4 separate regions of the Homo sapiens genome follow, and regions 1, 2 and 4 are each linked to region 3. The links are contacts of gene promoters, found by promoter capture Hi-C in blood cells and fetal thymus (Javierre and others, 2016). All regions are on one chromosome and are shown on one strand. The core of a region is centred on a gene start or on the middle of the fragment in contact, and the rest is flanking DNA. Distances in the headings are between cores, read along the strand shown.

Evidence for each region. Contacts are between HindIII fragments. The CHiCAGO score rates a contact against its expected background, and 5 or more counts as called.
Region 1: a contact is called between the fragment with the promoter of ZIK1 here and the fragment with the promoter of ZNF417 in region 3, in 1 of 17 cell types (total CD8 T cells). The highest score is 5.2, in total CD8 T cells.
Region 2: a fragment that was not itself captured here is called in contact with the fragment with the promoter of ZNF417 in region 3 in 3 of 17 cell types (non-activated CD4 T cells, fetal thymus and M1 macrophages); the score reaches 5.6 in non-activated CD4 T cells.
Region 4: a contact is called between the fragment with the promoter of ZNF550 here and the fragment with the promoter of ZNF417 in region 3, in 1 of 17 cell types (megakaryocytes). The highest score is 5.6, in megakaryocytes.

What each region holds. Positions count from the first base shown.
Region 1 is chr19:57,582,884-57,585,583 of GRCh38, reverse strand. ZIK1 (zinc finger protein interacting with K protein 1) reads right to left here and starts at 1,439. Exons shown (of 4, transcript NM_001010879.4): 1 at 1,195-1,439; 2 at 594-632. The coding sequence starts at 1,227. RefSeq lists enhancers at 1,603-1,702, 1,399-1,930. The HindIII fragment of the contact is 4,281 bases long and covers 481-2,700 here.
Region 2 is chr19:57,472,302-57,475,353 of GRCh38, reverse strand. ZNF772 (zinc finger protein 772) reads left to right here. Exons shown (of 4, transcript NM_001144068.2): 4 at 933-3,052. The coding sequence ends at 2,080. Among named protein-coding and RNA genes, the nearest start is that of ZNF772, 3.7 kb to the left of the region's middle. The HindIII fragment of the contact is 6,834 bases long and covers 1-3,052 here.
Region 3 is chr19:57,915,342-57,918,065 of GRCh38, reverse strand. It overlaps ZNF417 (zinc finger protein 417), which reads left to right and starts at 1,474. Exons shown (of 3, transcript NM_152475.3): 1 at 1,474-1,687. The coding sequence starts at 1,655. RefSeq lists enhancers at 1,098-1,157, 554-1,409, 1,428-1,717. The HindIII fragment of the contact is 13,199 bases long and covers 1-2,724 here.
Region 4 is chr19:57,558,279-57,561,355 of GRCh38, reverse strand. ZNF550 (zinc finger protein 550) reads left to right here and starts at 1,493. Exons shown (of 4, transcript NM_001397372.1): 1 at 1,493-1,700. The coding sequence starts at 1,674. LOC124904781 (a long non-coding RNA gene) reads right to left here and starts at 1,414. Exons shown (of 2, transcript XR_007067357.1): 1 at 1,238-1,414. RefSeq lists enhancers at 1,132-1,241, 186-1,385, 1,872-1,921, 1,363-2,227, 2,372-2,451. The HindIII fragment of the contact is 1,240 bases long and covers 867-2,106 here.

The DNA.
Region 1 (2,700 bases), core at 190-2,689, 330 kb after region 3:
GCAAGCAGGCCTAATTAAAATTCTGACCCAGAATCCAGCCACTTCTTCTACCTTCACAGCCACCACACTGGTGAAGCCACTATCAAAACTCACCTTGGCCACTGCAGTAGCCTCCTCCCTGGTCTTTCTATCGCCTCCATCACACCCACAGAGTATTCTCTATGCTGCATTAACAGTGAACCTGATGAGACCAGTGTCAGATAACCTCCGTTCTCTTCTCTAAACCTCCCATTGTTCTCATCACCTCCAGAAAAAACACCCAATTTCTCAGAGCCATTCCAGGCCTGAGTCCTGCCCTGCTGCTCTGAGTTCCCATGAGAAAGAAAGGAGAGTTGTGTTTCCCTGAATCAGCTCAGCTTCACTGCCAACCTTACACATTATTGTACGTAGGCGGGGCAACCTTTCACACCTCATTCCATTGTCTGCCAGCAATAAGAACGTCTACAAATAACCACCAGTCTAGAATCAGGATGTCAAGCTTCCAGTTTGTGAAGAGTCCTTAGGTCAAAGAACTGGATGGTGGCAAAAAGATCCATGAAAAAACCCCAGGATGGGGCCAGGACCAGTGAGGGCCTGGGACACCCTCCACTCACCTTTGTGAGGTCCATATGTGTTTCTGGAGACACAGTAACCTGTGGAAAGCCAAAGATCATGAAAGGCAGGTGACCATACAGGGCTCTACGGATTCAGGCTTCCCTGGATTCCTGTCCAGGCCAGAGCCAGGTGGACTGAGGATGCCTGCATTATTTCTGAGCCTCAGCGTTCCAGTCCTCAGTGCCAACTCTTAGCAACTGTGGGACCTTGCACAAGAACTCAACCTCCCTGTGCCTCTGTGTTATTCCATTCTATTCTAGTCTAACTCCATGAGGTTTTTGGAAAACTTCGAAAGACCTAACTCAGACCATATGCCGCTTCTGTACACAACCCTCCACGGCTCCTAGCATCCTAAGAATTGAGGGAAAACTCCTCACCTTGGCACTCCAGGTATGAACCTTCTTCACTGTGTCTCCAAGAGTTTAGAAACGCTGGTCCCTTTGCCTGTAACCCTCTTCCGTGCCCCATCACCCAAGTTCTGGAAATAGGGACCCCACCCACGAGCCCCCACTGTACTGGACATGAGGATCTCGACCGTAGTGACCCAAGAAGGCACTAATTTGGGGATGGAGGGTGAGGCCCAGTAGAGGCAGCGCTCACCTGAGTCGGGGCCCTCAGCGCGGCCGCAGCCATCGGAGTCTGTGGGCAGAGCGGGGCCGGGACCCGACAGCTACGGGCGGAGGGACCTAGGCAAAGCCGTCAACCCCGCCGCCGCCGACCCTTAGAACCCCCACTGTTCAGCGGGAGGACCCCTCCCCTCGCGCCTTCCGACTGTCGCCAAACAAAGCGCTCCCAAAGCTCTGACGGTCTGGATGCACCCAAGCGCTGCAAAAATGACCGCCACTGAAGTGATACCGGAAGTCCCTCCCCGACCCATTGGTCCCAAAGCGGAAACGACCCTTTTCTCAGCGCGGATTGGCTCAGCATCCCTGCGGCTGGAGACAAAACCTTCTGGGTTCTGTAGTCCCCGCTGGTCCCCAGGGCTGAGGGAAGGATGCTGCCGCCCAGCGTCACCTCAAACAAAAGCCAAGCGGCCGCGCTGGGGGCGCAGGGAAATGGCGTCGCCACAATGCAGGAGAGGGCTGGGCCTTGTCGCTCCTTAAACAGGCCGCTGGTCGATTTCTGTGGTCCCGTCGCGGCTGAGCGCCCACGTGATTAGAAGCATTGATTCAGGCTCAGGAAGCTGAGGCCAGATCCACACCGACGCGTATTCCATACGTATTCGACGCTCCTGCGGGAGCAAAGGAGCCTCGTGCCCCTCCCTTGCGGGGTCAAGGCGTTCGAGGCCGTGCCGGGGCCAAGGCTATTCTGTGAAAGGAGCGACTTAGGTGTCGCGCTGTGGGCACGTGTCCCGGGAGGCCACGTGGGGGCCGCGCCCCCGGCTGCTCCTGCTCTGACCTGAGCCCTTTGACTGTACCCAGAGGCGGGAGGCGGGGCCGAGACGTCCCATGGGAAGGGGTTCTCCGTAGCTCCACCCCGGGGGACGTCTCCTCCAGGGGGGCCGGGCGAGCTGGGAAGGCCCCAGAGCCGCCGAGGAAAGCGCCTCTGCTTCCCTGAGTCCCCTCCTGGGTCTAGGAGCCGTTCCTGCGTTTTCTGACGCCCTCTCCACCGCCCCTCGGCTGAGAACTGGGTCCAGATGAGCCTTGGACCCCGTTGAAGACGTCTCCTACCTCATCTCCCACACCTGCTGGGACCATCTCCAACCGCCCTCAGGGCAGTAGGGAGGTAGGCGGGTTCCCAGGGCACCCCAAGCGGTGGCGTACAGTGGTAGGAACAAGGCCTCTGGAGCCCAAGAATGGGATTTAGTCCCCGAGGGGAAGTCCATGCTCTGCCTTACAGCGGCTGGTATGGGCTTCTGGGGGCACCCTGAGACTCGGCCTGTAGGGATACTCATAATGGCCTCCATGAAGGTGCAGGTTTAACCACTGGACCAGTCTCATCTGGCCATCCTCTGTTGGTAACATAATGTCCAGTTATTTTGCAGGCACAGAGCTAAAGAGTTGCAAGTTACACAGCTAGAGAATGTGCAGAAAAGAAAATGTCAGGCCCAGCGCGGTGGCTCACACCTGTAATCCAAGCACATTGGGAGGCTGAGGTGGAAGGACC
Region 2 (3,052 bases), core at 301-2,800, 440 kb after region 3:
GACACCTCTGTGCCTGGGATTCTGCGCTCTTCCTTTAGCTGACATTTCCTGTGGCCTGCCTATGTCAGGAATTGTAGGGACCATTATGGTCGCTACTTGCTAGGACCACTGCACTATTCCTGCAAGACCTTACTCTGAGATTATTTTAATAATATTTAGTTTTCTATATGGGTTACCCAGACCAGTGCTGTTCTATCTTTCCCTTAGGACATACATCTTTCATGTCCCACATAGTTGCCTCACTGGTGATGGGTAGTGAGCCCTGGGTACCTGACTGGGTGGACATGACCCTAGCTGTTGCCACAGAGACTCCAGGTGGGAGTGACCCTGGTGAGTAGGAGCTGGGGAAAGGTGTGATGTCAGGGCTGGGTTCATATCATTCCATAGCCTCTTTGTGCCTACAGTTGTATTAGTGCTAAGGCCACTGGCCTTTCATACTCTGGCCTTTGGCCTCTGGATGTTCCATACCTCTGCCTTCATGTCTCACCTGTTCCTCTCCATGGCTTGTTCTACAGTGCCTTCCAGCATTGGCCTGTACTTAGTGTTTCATGAGATGTGTAGCCCAAATAGTCCTTAAACACCAACTACTGAGTAGCAATTTGATTTTCTTTGGTATGGACCATAACCTTCTGCACAACTCTCACCTGTCCCCAGCAGCCAAGAAAATCTGATTGTGAATGACTTTGAGACCTGCCTCTTTTTTGTGCTGTACCCCACATCTTTGTCCTCTCCCAGTTGAGGCCTTCTCCATTCTATGACATTTAGATGCCAACTACCGTATAGTACACATTTGCTGAACTTGAGTTTGGACCCTTGTCCTAACAACAGTCCTATGACCTTGGTCTTAGTTGTGTTAGACACATATTTGTAGTGAGGCTTCCCCTCTTCCACCTGTGTCAATTTGTACTTCACCAGCATTTCTCTGCTTTCAGGTTGTTGGCATGGAATGGAGGATGAAGAGATACCTTTTGAGCAGAGCTTTTCTATAGGAATGTCACAGATCAGGATTCCCAAGGGAGGTCCTTCTACTCAGAAGGCTTACCCCTGTGGGACATGTGGCCTGGTCTTAAAAGACATTTTGCACTTGGCTGAGCACCAGGAAACACACCCAGGGCAGAAACCATACATGTGTGTGCTGTGTGGGAAACAGTTCTGCTTCAGTGCAAACCTTCACCAGCACCAGAAGCAGCACAGTGGAGAGAAACCCTTTAGAAGTGATAAGAGCAGGCCCTTTCTTCTGAACAACTGTGCTGTGCAATCAATGGAGATGTCTTTTGTGACAGGGGAGGCTTGTAAGGACTTCCTAGCCAGCTCAAGCATTTTCGAGCACCATGCCCCTCACAATGAGTGGAAGCCACACAGCAACACCAAGTGTGAGGAGGCCTCTCACTGTGGAAAAAGGCATTACAAATGCAGTGAATGTGGGAAAACCTTCAGCCGCAAAGACTCACTTGTTCAACACCAGAGAGTCCACACTGGAGAAAGGCCTTATGAGTGCGGTGAATGTGGGAAAACCTTTAGCCGCAAACCCATACTTGCTCAGCACCAGAGAATCCACACTGGAGAAATGCCTTATGAGTGTGGCATATGTGGGAAAGTTTTTAATCATAGCTCTAACCTTATTGTACATCAAAGAGTACACACTGGAGCAAGGCCTTACAAGTGCAGTGAATGTGGGAAAGCCTATAGTCACAAATCTACACTTGTTCAGCATGAGAGTATCCATACTGGAGAAAGGCCATATGAGTGCAGCGAATGTGGAAAATACTTTGGTCACAAATACAGACTCATTAAACATTGGAGTGTTCATACTGGAGCAAGGCCTTATGAGTGCATCGCATGTGGGAAGTTCTTTAGCCAAAGCTCTGACCTTATTGCACATCAAAGAGTTCATAATGGTGAAAAGCCTTATGTGTGCAGTGAATGTGGAAAAGCCTTTAGCCACAAACATGTACTTGTTCAGCATCATAGAATTCACACTGGAGAAAGGCCATATAAGTGCAGTGAATGTGGGAAGGCCTTCAGGCAGAGGGCTTCCCTCATCCGCCACTGGAAAATTCACACTGGAGAAAGGCCTTAGGATGGGAGATAATTCCGTTTCCTTGTTCAACATAATAACTGACATCAGAGAGAAGCTCCAAGCATAGCCTTTATGTGTAGCCGACAGCCAGAAGTAGAACTTTATACACTCAAACACTCACCCTGGGGAGGTTCTTCCGAGTGCCAGCTATATGGGAAGCCTTCTGGAGCTATGCTGAATTTTCTAGACTCTTGCTGGAATTTCGTCAAGGCAGTGCCTGTTAGAAGCCATCTGTCTTTGTGCTGGAAGAGTCCTGCCTTGTGCCAAAGTAACCCCAATGTGTTTCAAAAGACAGACCTCTGTACTATTCCCTTCCCTGGAGGGAATCATCAGTAGCCTGAGGCCATCAAGGATTCTCACTTTTTTTCTGCCCCACTACTGGTTTAAGCATGAGCATGACCCAGTTTTAGCCAGAAAAATGGGAGCTTTGTTCTGCTGACCACTGGCAGAGGTTTCCCTTCATGGATATAGTTGATCTCACATGGCACTTGGGACGAATTTTTCTAGCCTTCAAGACACCTGACCTGAAATTGGCTGCCTCATATTCTGGTTTTGCAACAAATGCCTTAATTTTTAGACTATCTGAAATCTTGAGGATTCTGTTCGCTTTGTGGGTTGGGTTGAGAACAGAATTGAGCTAAGCCAGTATGAAGGGAAGAACAGCTTTTGTGAGAGCTCCAACTATCTGTATCTCTGAAGTGATAGTAGGATGGCAAAGACTAGCTCTTATGCTAGTGTCAAGCTAACTTACTTGACTGCTTCAGCTCTCCTAGGAAAGAATGCCAGTCTTTGTAGGCCTAATCTTTTGGTCTATATGTTAAGATTTTTTGTGTAATTGAGGTCACCCTAAGCAGTGGGCATTTGTTGTGATAATCTCTAATGTGTCTGGGAGCAACATGAATTACGTCCCTTGTTCCCAGAAGATACTTCATATTCCCAAGGCTTCTTGAGGAGAATTTGAACTCAGTGGAC
Region 3 (2,724 bases), core at 225-2,724:
ATCACTTGAACCCGAGAGGCAGAGGTTGCAGTGAGCCGAGATCGCGCCACTGCACTCGAGCCTGACCAAAGAGCGAGACTCCGTCTCATAAAAGAAAAAGTTTATTTTGCCAAGGTTGAGGACACATGCCCGTGACACAGCCTCAGGAAGTCCTGACGACATGTGCCCATGGTGGTTGGGGTACAGGTTGGTTTTATACATTTTAGGGGGACATGAGACATCAGTGAATATATGTAAGAAGTACATTGGTTCCGACCAGAAAGGCGGGAACAACTCGAAGCAGGGAGGGGACTTCCAGGTCACAGGTAGACAGGTAGAGAGACAAATAGTTGGATTCTTTTTAATTTCTGATAAGTCCTTCCAAAGGAGGCAATCAGAATAGGCATCTATCTCAGTGAGGAGAGGGAAGACTTTGAATAGAATGGGAGGCAAGTTTGCCCTGAGCAGTTCCCAGATTGACTTTTCCCTTTAGCTTAGTAATTTTGAGGCCACAAGATTTTCCTTTCACAGATTCTATCAGCAGGAGAGTTGTTTTCTGTAGGAATCACAGAGATTCAGCTTTGCACTCCTGCTATAGGGGAGCACATCCCTAACTTCCTTCATTTGCCTTAGGCACTCTAAGGCTTCTGAGGGCCTTCAGACACATTATAACACAACAACGCTTATCAGCCTCTGCTTCCAGTGCAGGTATTTTGCGACTGAACGACTGTTTCAAACGGTGTGGTAATTTGGATTTTTAGCCTTTAGGAGAATCCTAAATAATAGTTTTAGCTTGAGCTCCCTATTATTTACCTTGCGCTCCCCGAAATCTGAAACAGTATTTTTCCAGATTCTTGAGTGATTAGTTACAGACACTAGTCTCCAGGAATCTCAATACGGCTTCTAAGGCTAGGTGAGACCCCTCCTCTGCCCTAGAAAGGCGCCTTTTTTTTTTTTTTTTTTTTTTTTTTTTTTTTTTTTTTTGAGACAGAGTCTTGCTCTGTCGCGCAGGCTGGAGGGCAGTGGCGCGATCCCAGCTCACTGCAAGCTCTGCCTCCCAGGTTCACGCCATTCTCCTCCAGCCTCAGCCTCCAGAGTAGCTGTGACTGTAGGCGCCCGCCACCACACCCAGCTAACTTTTTTTTTTTTTGAATTTTTAGTAGACACGGGGTTTCACCGTGTTAGCCAGGATGGTCTCCATCTCCTGACCTCGTGATCCGCCCACCTCCGCCTTCCAAAGTGCTGAGATTACAGGCTTGAGCCACTGCGCCCGGCCAGAAGGGTGCGCTTTTTAAGGAGAACCCCTGACCTGATGGCGGGCTTTTCCTGCAGATGGACTCTGGGTATCGCTCTTTTTAGCGCCATGGAAAGTGGGGAACTACATTACCCAGAAAGCTCTGCGTTAAACGACAGCCGGTCAGAGCCAATGAGCACTCGGAAAGAAGGCATTTCCACGTGTGCACGTAACGTAAGGCTGAGACTTCCGGGGTCTCTAGTAGCGGCTGTGTATCGGTGACGCGGGTGTTTCCCCAGTTTGTGGCCCCTGAGTGCTGGGGGGGGACCGCGGTGACTGAACCTAGAAGGTGGAGAGGAATCGTCCTCGGTGCCCAGAGGCGGCTCTGCAGCCCCGTGACGGCGACCACTGCTCCCGGGCCGTGCTTCCCCAAGTAGTCCGATGGCAGCGGCTGCGCCGAGGCGCCCGACTCAGGTAATTGTGGCGCCTTCTGTGCCCTCAGGTCACCCCATCGTCACCCAGGTCCTAAACCAGCGAGGGAGCGGCTCCTGCTCACGGGTCTGTAGCCGGTACCCGGCGTAGGAACACTGAGGCGCTCGCAGGAGGGGTCCCTGTGTAACTGTCCAGTGGGGGTCCCTGTGTAACTGTCCAGTGGGTTCACCTTGCCAGCTGCCTAGACAGAGCCGATTTATGAAGACTGGAGAATTGCGATGGAGAAATAGTAATTGACGCAGAGCCGTCAGGCTGTTCTGGAGACAGGAGTTTTATTATTACTCAAATCAGTCTCCATTAGCATTCCGGGATCAGAGTTTTCAACATTAATTTGGCGGTAAGGGTTGGGACCTGAGATGGATTCATAGAGGGTTAAAGTGAGTTTTTCATGCTGTTTTCTGTTCTGGGTGGGATGGCAGAACTGATTGACCCAGATTACCGGTCTGTGTGTTGTCAGCTGATCCATCCAGTGCAGGATCTGCAAAATACCTCAAGCACTGATCTTAGGTTTTACAATAGTGATTTATCTTCAGGAGCAACTTGGGGAGGTTCAGACTCTTGGAGTCAGAAGCTGCATGACCCCTAAACGGTAATTTCTAACCTTGTAGCTAATTCGTTAGTCCTGCAAAGGCAGGCTGTTCTCCAGGCAAGAAGGGGGTCTTTTCAGGAAAGGGCTATTATCAATTTTGTTTCAGAGTGAAACCATGAACTGAATTCCTTCCCTAAGTTAATTCAGCCTATACCCAGGAATGAACAAGGACAGCTGAAAGGTTGGAAGCAAGACGGAGTCAGTAAGGTCTGATTTCTTTCACTGTCATAATTTCCTCAGTTATAATTTTGCAAAGACGGTTTCACCTGTTTCTGACACCCGTGGGATGCGGTGGGGAGAGCAACAAGCACAGGGAGGGGCGCAGGCAATGGCCTGGAGATGGACGGAGCCGGGAGGATGGAACCTGTCTGGAACAAAGTGTGAGGTGGAGCTCTCCCTGGAAGAGTAAGCAGGCCGAGGGCTGTGCATT
Region 4 (3,077 bases), core at 244-2,743, 360 kb after region 3:
GAGTAAGGTTTACTCCTGAGAACAAAATTTGGAACATGTTTGTTTCTCTCTGCCTTATTGGTTCTTTAAGGACCACTGCAACATGGTCTTGGGAATTATACTTCAAGAAGCCTATAAGGTTAAAGGGTGTTTATACTCACAGTGATATAGGAATAGCACTGGGTGGTTGCAGGAGGATGGAAAAATTCGAACAACAAATAAAAACAAGAACTAGGCAAAGAAACCATAGGATAACAGAAAACCCAAAATAAGAGAAAGAATGGCCAAAATCCCAGTCAGGATGACATGTCCATGACTCTTCTGGGCAAAGCCAAATAAGAGAGAAAGGGGGCAGTAACCAGGTGGGTCCCTGAATTTCCCTCCTTTTCCAGAATACCTAATAATTATTCCACTCTCTAATTAAAGAAACACCCACAAAATAGGAATGCTGTGTGGTCACAGGAGAAGGGGGAAAACATCAAGCTGTTAAAATTAGCTACTCCAACAAGAAGACTGGGCTGATGAGACCTTAACAAACAGGATTGGGGCTAGGCTGTCCCATGACGCTAGATTTGACCCATTTCCTACCCCAGACCTAATTATACACTCATTGCCACATTAAATCACACACCCACCAGTGCCAGGCCAATCCAAGCACGCCCACATTTAGTATAAAAATGGTTGGCACCCCAATTCTAAGAAATTCCCACCTTTTCCTAGAAAAACCTCATGATTATCCCACCCCCTAATTAGAAGAGCCCATAAAATTAGAAACCCAAACTCCATTGTGCATGACCCGCTCTCCCTCGTACGTCCGCATTTCCCTCTTCTCTTGGGAAAAGTACACTCTTCTCAAAAATGTGTACTTTTTCTTCCCAATAAAAGCTTCTTGCCTTTGGCTTCATTTTGACTCATCCCTGCATTCTTTCTCACGATGGTGTCACGAAGCTGGACTCCGGAAGCGGGCGGGGACTCACGGCCCCTGGAGACCTTCCTGAGCCCTGGGCAACACCAGTCCACACAGAGGAGGCAGACGTCCCACAGACGGAACCCCACGAGCATGTCCCGGGAATGGCTCCACGCGGGAAGCGGGGGTCCAGATCCACGCCAGTCCCAGGGACAGTGCCTGGCGTCAGGGTGGAGGAGGACGCAGTAACCAGGCGTAAGATTTTACTGGTACATGGGAATGTCACTGGGTCACTCAGAGGAGGCAAGCGGGGAACCTCGTGGCAGGGCCCCCTTTATCAAACTCGTTTACCTGGGTGCCTGGGCGAGTGCTCACAGCCTGCTTGTAGGGACGTTGAGGCATCCGAATAATAGGAAGTTTTAAAAATTTACAATCCAGTGTGTACACTTGCTCCGCTAAGATCATCTGAGATATACAGAAACATGGTGTGCATAATAAAAAAGGAAAAAGAGCCAAGCCTGGCCTCTTACGGGACAAGACTACATTACCTAGAAGGCAGTGGGCCGGCGCAGGAAAAGGCGTGGCAGGCGACCGCGACACAGGGGCGGGACTTCCGGCCTCGCTGGCGTGGACGTTTGTGGTGGGGCGTGTTGGTCCGCGCTCTCAGAACTGTGCTGGGAAGGATGGTAGGGCGACTGGGGCTCACCTCCGCACCGTTGTAGGACCCGGGGTAGGGTTTTGAGCCCGTGGGAGCTGCCCCACGCGGCCTCGTCCTGCCAACGGTCGGATGGCGGAGACGAAGGACGCAGCGCAGGTGAGCAGACTGGCTCGGCTCCCCGCGGCCACCCGGCCTCAGTGTCCCGGGCCCGACGAGCGGAAGGACGGCGTTTCAGGGTCGTCCTCAGTGCAGTCCCTGCCGTTGCTTCTTAGAGGCCTAGAAGGGGGTCGCGCGGTCCCGGGTCCGGAATGCAGGCCCGCGGTGGCGTGGGGAGCGTCCCCGTTTCTGGGGTGCGCGGCGTTGTGGTATGAAATAGGGCTTTTAGGGTCCCGGAACCCCTCACAGGTGAGAGGAGCGACCGCAGTCCTCCTCGTGGCTCTTCCAACCATGTCCTTTCTCGGGCCTGCGACCTTGAACAAGTCCCGTTACTGTCCTCGTCCTTCATTTTTGCGCGCGCAAAGTAGAAATATTTACTCTTCCCCCCCCCGGGGTTGAGGAAGCTTGAACGGCTCCCTGGGTGATGTGTGTGTGTCCGTCTCAGTGCACAGCACGGTCCGGGGACGTCGCTCAGGATGTTGTTTCCGGAGCTGCTCCCTGGGCCTGTGCTAGGTTTGGAGACTCAACCCCAGCAGGAGTCTGACCCTCTGGCCTCCTTGGCCTCCTGTCTCTACAACACGAAGGGCAGCGGCTGAAAGAGGTGGGAGGAGCGTTTCTGCGGTTGCTGCTATGCCAGGGCAGAAAAGGTGGTAGGGCAGGCTGAGGAATTTGTCTTTCAGTTTAGGGCAAGGGACGCTGGGTTGCAACTAACAGTATATTTTCCTGTTTAAGACATTTAGTTACAGGTGAAAAACGAGTCCATTAAAATGTTCAGTGGCGATGGTATGCAGGATGTAGTGTCCCTTTGGAGATAACACATGAGGCCCAGGGTTACTCTCTAGCAGTCACTCTGATTACTTTCATGATAGCCCAGATTACTGTCAGCTCCTGTCGTAGTTGTTAATTTCTCATCCACCTCTCCCTCCTTTGCTTTATTTCTGACTCCCTCTGGTGTCCGCTGCTTAAAGAGGTCTCGTCTGTTGCACCGTTTAAAGCTGACCAGAGTCTCTTTGGTCTCCTTGCTCTGTTTTCTTGTCATCTGAATCTTTAAGGCCATCTGACATTGCCTTACTCATTTATTTAGTTGCCTGTTTAGGATCTTTTTCCAACCCTGGAATGTGAGTGCCTGTTGCTTCCCTCTCCCAAGACCCAGAACAGCCAGGCTTAAGTACATTTATTGTACTTAATAAATGGTTGATGATTGAATAGGCCTCTCTTATAGGGACTCTCATCACATTTCCAATAAATCCACCCCCTCCTACCAGCATGGTCTGCAAGGCTGTACTTGGTTTGCCCTTTTGACCGCATCTTCTTTCTCCTCTTCCATTGTCCCCTTTCTCACTGCATTCATCCAGGGAATCCTGAGCTTGCCAAGCT